Linked DNA regions of Homo sapiens: region 2 is linked to region 1. The links are contacts of gene promoters, found by promoter capture Hi-C in blood cells and fetal thymus (Javierre and others, 2016). All regions are on one chromosome and are shown on one strand. The core of a region is centred on a gene start or on the middle of the fragment in contact, and the rest is flanking DNA. Distances in the headings are between cores, read along the strand shown.

Evidence for each region. The method cuts DNA at HindIII sites, captures the fragments that hold promoters and counts their contacts. A CHiCAGO score of 5 or more calls a contact.
Region 2: a contact is called between a fragment that was not itself captured here and the fragment with the promoter of MROH2B in region 1, in 1 of 17 cell types (activated CD4 T cells). The highest score is 5.8, in activated CD4 T cells.

What each region holds. Positions count from the first base shown.
Region 1 is chr5:41,069,397-41,073,832 of GRCh38, reverse strand. It overlaps MROH2B (maestro heat like repeat family member 2B), which reads left to right and starts at 2,491. Exons shown (of 42, transcript NM_173489.5): 1 at 2,491-3,008; 2 at 4,081-4,142. The coding sequence starts at 2,981. It overlaps LOC105374739 (a long non-coding RNA gene), which reads right to left and starts at 2,476. Exons shown (of 6, transcript XR_001742650.2): 1 at 1,905-2,476. The HindIII fragment of the contact is 2,936 bases long and covers 2,051-4,436 here.
Region 2 is chr5:39,640,256-39,644,530 of GRCh38, reverse strand. No RefSeq gene overlaps it. Among named protein-coding and RNA genes, the nearest start is that of LINC02104, 120 kb to the right of the region's middle. The HindIII fragment of the contact is 908 bases long and covers 988-1,895 here.

The DNA of each region.
Region 1 (4,436 bases), core at 1,242-3,741:
TCTAAAACTAGAATTACCTTTTGACCCAGCCATCCCATAAATGGGTAGATACCCAAAGGATTATAAATCATGCTGCTATAAGGACACATGCACACGTATGTTTATTGCGGCACTATTCACAATAGCAAAGACTTGGAACCGACCCAAATGTCCATCAATGATAGACTGGATTAAGAAAATGTGGCACATATACACCATGGAATACTATGCAGCCATAAAAAATGATGAGTTCATGTCCTTTGTAGGGACATGGATGAAGCTGGAAACCATCATTCTCAGCAAACTATCGCAAGGACAAAAAACCAAACACCGCATGTTCTCACTCATAGGTGGGAATTGAACAATGAGAACACATGGACAAAGGAAGGGGAACATCACACACTGAGGACTGTTGGGGGGTGGGGGGAGTGGGAAAGGATAGCATTAGGAGATATACCTAATGCTAAATGACGAGTTAATGGGTGCAGCACACAAACATGGCACATGTATACATATGTAACAAAACTGCACGTTGTGCACATGTACCCTAGAACTTAAAGTATAATAATAATAAAATTTTTAAAAAAGAAATTAGGCTTATCTCATGAAACTGACAAATCAAACAAAACACAGCCTAATTTCACTTTTAATATATTTTATAAAAATCTAACACGTCATCTGAAGAATAAAAGGATAAATATCAAAGTTTAGATTAATTGTAGTATACATTAAAATCATCTACAATTAAACTATTAAAACCATAAAATTTAAATTTTTATAACGTTTCTGTATTATTTCTATGTATCTATTCTTCTTTAGCTTTATATTTTACCTTTACTGCCTTATTAATATTTTTGTCTGATAACATCATGTGGGAACATAGTAGGCCTGGGATTGGGTAGCTTCATTTGACAAGTTACATTGAAAGGGGATGGCTACCACATATCCAGTGAGACACTCTAATTCCTTAGCAGGCTAGATTTAGGCTCCCTCACAAATATCTAGAAACAGTACTTAATTAGTTAGCACATGCCATCCTATTCACTTTGAGAATTCGTGTTTAGGATCCTCTTAGAGTCTTAGAGAAATCAAATCCATATTGTGTTAGCCTCATGCAATGAGAAGAGGAAGAAATAATGGGAAGATGTAACAAGCAGGCGACTGAAAAATGAAATAAAATGACAGCAAATCAGCTATTTTGAGGATTTGGGGATTTTAAAACTATCTGCAGTATTGGTTTCAATGAGTGAATTTACTTTGTCTGAAAGGATTTTAGCAAAAAGTTGTGTTTTGATTGCAGCGATGAATAAATTAAAAGTCAAAATAAATCAATTATCTCCTAACTTCTCTAATCTCTATGAAATCAAGGAAGTCTTTATATACAGACATACAGAAAAATCATTTGTCACCATTCACAAAAATATTAAGAAAATGGTTGTAACAATTACCTAAATGGCTAGCTTTCTTATTATTGATTCTGCTGTACATTGTTTTTTAAGACTCTAAGAGCACATAATTTCTAACATCATTTTTTCCCTTATAGGGAATCTGTTGTTTTATTTACTACAAGTAGACTTAACATCTTATAGATGTTAAGAGTTTCGGGATGCCTCTAATCACCCCAGTACCTCCCTGACTAACCAAACTTGGCCTATTCTTCAGTGAGTCATGATGCTGGGGAAGAGCTCCTTGCCCAACCACAACAAACATTCTTCAGTTAACTGCTATTTACTGATCCACTAATGAATGTTTGGGCAAGGACCTTGGTCAGTGCTTTTCAAAGTTCAGTGAACCTAAGAATCACCAGGGGCGCACATTAAATATATAGATTGCTGCCCCCTCATTCTAATTTACTGGGTCTGAAGTGGGGCCTGGGAATTCACATTTTAAATAAGGATACCAAGTAAATCCCATGATAAAGTCACCTGGAGACAAAACTCTGAAAGTGATGCTGACTTGGGAAGCGGAAAATGTTGAGGATCTCTTTAATACAGTGCAAAATGTCTATGAGAAGAATGATGAATTCAAAGGTTTAGTTGGAAGCAGTTGACCTTTGAATCTGGAATAAGCTTCACCGATGAAGTTAAGATGGCCAAAAAAGCAGCAGCAGATGAAAATTGTCATGAGCTCCCCTCCTCAGCCCATTCTACATTTAGCCCTATAGACTAGCAGTACTGCCTTCCCTTTCTCTATCATCCTCCATATTCACATAGAGTCTGGACATATATTGAAGATTGTCATCACATAGATTTATAGTTGGGGACCAGATTTCAATTCATGCTAGATAAGTTGAAAACATTATGGAAAATTGATCTAGATAAAAAATAATTTGAAAACAAAAAGAAAGCTGAAGACAGAGAAAAAGCCTGAGCCTGGAGTGAGGCCAAGATCCTGAACATGCCAGGGAGGAATTAATGGAGAGGGAGGTAGAGAGGTCTTCACTTTGCTGCTGTCAGTTGGACATTCCATCCAACTGCCCCTGAAGTGCATTCCAGTCCACTGAGCATGCTCAGTTCATATGACTGATTTTCACTAAGTGTAACAATCAACGAGTTCACCATAAAGCCTTTCCCAACATCAGGACAGTAAAGCAACTACTGAAAACCATTCCTGAATTTGTGATCAATGGACTCAAGTTTAGGGAGAGGAGCACCTTTGGTCTGCAACAATGGTTTGAATCCCAGTCTCTAATTACTTCTTTCCCAAATACTCTGGTCACCAAAGGGACAATATTTGGTGAGATGCAGCCATTTTGTTGGTTAGCAGGAGTTCAGACGCAAGACAATGTCATAGTGGTAGAATACAGTATCAACTTCAACAGCAAGCCCATCTCTGGAAGCTCCCAGACCATTGTGCCAATCAAGTGGAGGAGGCACTTTCATTTAGAGAGGCTTATGTGAACCTTATATGAGAAACTTGCCAACCTGCCTCTTTGATTTTTTAGCCTTACTATTTCTAATACTTAGGTGCTATCTTTTAGAGACCCTGAAACAGCCAAGACATGACACTTAGTACAGAGGAATCCATAGGTAAGCATCATCAGATCCTGAGAAGCCAAGGCTCTTCCCTGTGTTTTGTTTCTGTGGAATTATAAGTATATATGAGGGCTGGGAGTGGCGCGTCATTGTGGGAGGACTGTACACCTCAAAGGATTTATGAAATGGTATGCTAAATACATAATAAAATCATGCTGATTGTGAAGGACCAATAATAGACTGGAAGCCTAAGAGATGGTTGTGCTTTAAAATTTAGAGTCTACCTGAGGAGAAAGTGGCTACATATCAAAGAAAGGCAGTTTGTTATTTAATTTTAAATACTAGAAGAGTCCTTTGGAAGTATTTCTCCCAATTTCCAGGTATGGCTGCCTTTCTACTTTGCCAAAAAGATTGCCCTAAATGAGTATGTTGTTTGGTGTGGAGGTTAATAAGAAATCTTCATCTCCAAAAGTATTTCTCCTACCAACTTGCCATGTAGCTTGAAATTGCTCAATTCCTTTGACTCAATTTTTTTTCCAGTTTTCTAGAGTGCTTTATTCAAAAACATATATTCCTAGAAAATGCAAGTCAAACACATTTAGGTCATTGTCAGAAAACAGGAAGCCTTCATTAGCATGTGACCAAAAGAGGGAGTTGGCAGGCACAGGAGAATAGGTGGAGTTGAAAAGGGTATGGAAAAAGAAGATGGGAGAGGTATTGAGGGGAGGACCAGTGAAAAATAAACAGCTATGTTGCACCCCTGCCTTCTAATGCTTAAGTCAGGAGTGAGAAATTCACCTCATTGACTCTGAGAGCTAAATCCTGCAAGAGAGAATTTACAAGGCAATGCCCACTTGCCTGGAGGGATACATAGGAATCCGGCATCTTTTATCTTCCCTTTCACATTTGATTCAGGTTTCAAAAATAATAATAACTTAGCATCTGCTAGTTTCATTTATGTCATGGATATGAATAAAACAGTTCCTGCCATCAAAGAGCTAGCAGTCAAGGGAGAGAGAGAGAGAGAGGATAAATGAATGAATGAACTTTCTGTGTTGATTACAAAATAATTAACAGGAGGGCATTTCAGCATATATTTCAATTCATATTTTTCTGTACGTTTTAGAGATGTTTGGGGATATTAACCTCACTCTTGGCATGCTGAACAAGGAAGATATTGTTAACAAGGTAGGGAAAACAGAGAAAAATCTTTTTCCCTTTTTCAGTCTTCTTGTTGCAACATTTCGTATATATTTTTCTTTGTCTCAACTTTCTCATTTTTCTCTGGCTTGTTACATGGCATTAGATTTTTCAGTAAATGCAGTTGTAATGAAAGTCATTGTAATGTTTAAGCAATGATATTTGGCATTTCAAGAATCACAGCATCTATGTCTAGAAAATAGCAAAAAAAAAGTTCCTTTTTATAACTTTATACAGGCAGATGTTGAAAGGTGTATGTCAGACTTACAAACATGTGGATGA
Region 2 (4,275 bases), core at 192-2,691, 1.4 Mb after region 1:
TAGGTTGTCTGTTTACTCTGCTGATAGTTTCTTCAATATCACTACTGGATATATACTTAATGGAAAATAATTATTCTACAGACAAGACACATGCACTTATATGTTCATTGCAGCACTATTCACAATAGCAAACACATGGAATGAACCTAGGTGCCCATCAACAGTGTACCAGATAAAGAAAATATGGTACATATACACCATGGAATACTATACAGATATAAAAAAGAGCAAGACCATGTCCTTTGCAACAACATGGATGCAGCTGCAGGCCATTATCCTAAGCAAATTAATGCAGGAACAAAACACCAAATGTCACATGTTCTCACTTATAAGGAGGAGCTGAATATTGGGTAAACATGGACATAAAAATGACAACGGTAGATATTAGGGACTAATATGGGATGTTGGAGGGAGGAATGGGTTGAAAAACTACTAGGTATTGTGCTCATTACCTGGGTGATGGAATCATTTGTGCACCAAACCTCAATGACATGCTATTTACCCATGTAACAAACCTGCACATATACCCACTGAACCTAAAATAAAAGCTGAAAAAAAATAAAATTATTTACTCAGCAAGAACAAATAGATGAATGAATAAAATGTCTAGGTTTCATTGGCCTTTAATTCTCCATCTGTAAAGACATAGGGTGGTCCAAATATATGGCTGAGAGGTAAATTCTCAAGAGATAAAGATATACCCAGGGGGTGGGCATAAGCCTCTACCTTGGGTGATTTCTTTTATACAACCATTAGTTGGAATAGAGGCATTGGCAGTTTCTAGTTTAACCAAGAGACTGATGTTAAGTTATTATATACTGAAAGCCTGTCAAAAGACATAGGTACATAGGCATTCTTGCAGATATATCTATTTATGTTCATATGTATATATCATAACATTCTTCCAATATGAGCAGACCTGGTCAGCCCAATCCATTATTGGGGTTATATTAAAACAAGGGTTAAAAATAAATGGGTCCAGAAGCTTAACTAAAGAAGAAACCAGCTGTGCAATCTAAACAGATGGTTGCATTTGGGATTCTAGTTATTTCAGTTACAATGTGGAGGAAAGGATCTCTAAAGTCATGCAAAGATTTTGGCTTAGTGTGTAAATCCAGCATTCAGTTAAATTTTCTGTGAAAGCTATTATTGACTGTTAGATTATTTATTTATTTATTTATTTATTTATTTATTTGAGACGGAGTTTTGCTCTTATCGCCCAGGCTGGAGTGCAATGGTACAATCTTAGCTCACTGCAACCTCTGCCTCCGTGGTTGAAGCGATTGTCCTGCCTCAGCCTCCTGAGTAGCTGGGATTATGGGCACCTGCCACCACACCCAGCTAATTTTTGAATATTTTTAATTTTGAATTTTTTTAAAATACAGCCTGTGTTTCGCCATGTTGGCCAGGCTAGTCTCGCACTCCTGACCTCAGGTGATCCACCCTCCTCGGCCTCCCAAAATGCTGGGATTATAGGCATGAGCTACCATGCCCAACCCGTTAGATTCCATGCAAAGATAAAAAGGAGGAGCAAGAAATAGGAGAGGAAAAGAAATAGGGGGTTCATGATGGAGAGAGGAGGTTCTTGGGAAAGCTGTTTACATTTAAGATGTCATCTGCTTCTGGAGAAAGATCTTTCTGGTCAGCTTTATCTTTAGATTACCAACTGGCATGTAGTTCCATAAATTGAGGGGGCCCCCCTCCAGTTGAGAGACATAGATCTAAGATTCAAGGCCTTGAAGTTTTGCTGGAGTGTGAATTATGAGAAAAACTTAGTATGTTCCCTTTCAACAAGGTTCAAGGGTAGTCTTTCTTTGATATCGTTTCCAAAAGACCCAGTCTCCAGGTTCTAGATGGTGGAAAATCTGATCATGAATCAGTGAGTCACAGAAGCTTATTTAACCTAATGAAAATATGCATTGGCATAATGTATCAAAGCCTCACAATATTGAGTCATGTCAGCGATTACAAATATAAGAAATACATGAGGTTTTATCATGAAGGGCACAGGTATTCCAGTTACTATTTTATAAAGGTGTCAGCTTGCGCATTGCAGTAGGGGTAGATTTAATTATCATTAAAGTCAGTGGTAAAACTTTTGGTGACGGCAATCCAATGAATTCCGTTAATATAGCCAAATTTAGTTTTAGGATACCATTTGTCCATTCAACCTTTACAGAAGACTAGGATGGTAAAGACAATGAGAATGTCATCTTGTTTGTAAAACTTTATTTAATTGTTTAATAATTTGTCCAGTAAAATGAGTTCTCCTATCATTGGAAATCTCTCCAAGGACACTTCATGAAGGAAATACATTTTCTAGTATATACAGATGGATAGATAGATATAGATAGATAGATAGATAGATAGATAGATAGATAGACAGATAATTTGCCACTGTTGTGGCATCAACCTTCCTGCATGGAAAGGCTCCAATCTATCCTGAGAACAGGCATACAGTTACATAACATACTGATAAGCCATGGAGGATAGCAGATAAATGAAGTTTATTTGTAGGGGTGAAAATGATCTTGCAGATACTAAACATGTACCACCTGGAACCTTAATGGCTTTTCTCAAATTAGGAATATGACAAATCAGACACTAGTTATAAACCTTTTTTGCAACTTTAGAACAATAACCCCCATACTTTTTCATAATCTGGACCGTTTTGACTATATTATGGTGAGTTATGTAGTGTAGATCTTTTAATAGTGGCTATTTTGAAGACTCAGTGATGACAAGGTGTCCATCTGGGCTCTCAGTGAGTTCACATTTAGTGTTAAATTTGAATCTTTTAAGTGTCAATTTTCTTTTCTTTTCTAATTCAGGTGCACAGCATCAATTATTGAATAAATTATCATAGGTGGTTATTTGATTGGAATCAATCTTATGGAATTCTTTAGATTGCATACCGTATTACTTATTAATTGAAAATGGAAGTCGGGTAGAGCATTTTCTTGATATTCAGTTTCAGTTTTATAAAAAGCTTCAATTTTACTAATAGCAACTTGTGAGGGCAACAAAGTAACAGAAAGAAGCCCGTACACTTGGGGTATATTTTTAATGGGGATCCCATTAGAAGTGAAAAATCCTCTTTGTTTGCATAGCACACCAAAACCATGGACTATAGAAAAACAAGAAAGATAGAAAACATCATGAGTCAAGAGTTCAAATTAAAAAATGAGGAAAAAAAGCATTTTTCTCACAAAAAAAGTATAAAAGGCATGAATCAATGAAATTTATTTTGTGTTGTCTACCATTTTATTGCTACAACATCAGGCACTAACATGTAGTACTCAATAAATATTTGTTGAATTAATAAAGAAGAGCAGTCCATTTGTGATACCAACAGAAATAGACAGCAGGATGTTGACCCATATGTTTTTAATGGCCTGCCCACTATGTGTAATTATTGGACTAAAGCATCAGGAAATTGAGAGCTTCTTCAGGGAAAAAATACCAACATTTGCATACCGAAGAAGATATTTATTAAAACTGGGAAAAACTAAGATATCAAGCAAACTGAGGAAGAAATCTCACAGAATCCATAGAAGGGATGGCTTGACCTTCTTTTAAAACCCTGTGGCTGGATAAATGTCTGCACAAGGAGAATGCAAAGGCCTTACTTCACATATTTTATCCCAATCCAGCCTAACCCTCTAGATGTCATGAAATAAGTTAATGCCACTGAGACACATGCTGAAGTAGACCAGTCTCTTCTTCGTCCTGCCTCTATCCCCAGTCACAAGGCTGACTGCTGAAAAGTCCCTGACCTATTCTAATGACTTAGAACTGAACCAAAACTTCTAGTGCTATGCAAATCAGAACAGATGTAGGGGCTTCTCCAGGTCCAGATGAATGTTAATTTCTAAAGTGAAGCCTCAACTGACTTTTTTTTTTTTTTTGAGGGAAAGTGGATGTTTCTGTTAGAATTCTGTTCTAAAGCAAGAAAATCTAAAATAATGATTTTTTAAAACTAGACACTGTTTTTTCTTTCACTTAAAAGAAGGCTTGAGCTTCACTAATCACCAGGGATGCTGGCTCCTGTCACCTTGCAACTCTGTCATCCTCAACATGTGGCTTTCTCCTCGTGGTCCAGTGTAGCTGCTGGAACTCCAGCCATCATGTCACATTTCAACCAATAGGAAGAAGGAGAAAAGAAAAGCACCCCACCCCCCTTCCAGAACACTTCTCTAAACTTATACATAACACTTCTCTTCAAATCCCACTGGCCAAAGTTTAGACACAGAACCATAACTAGCTGCAAAAGAC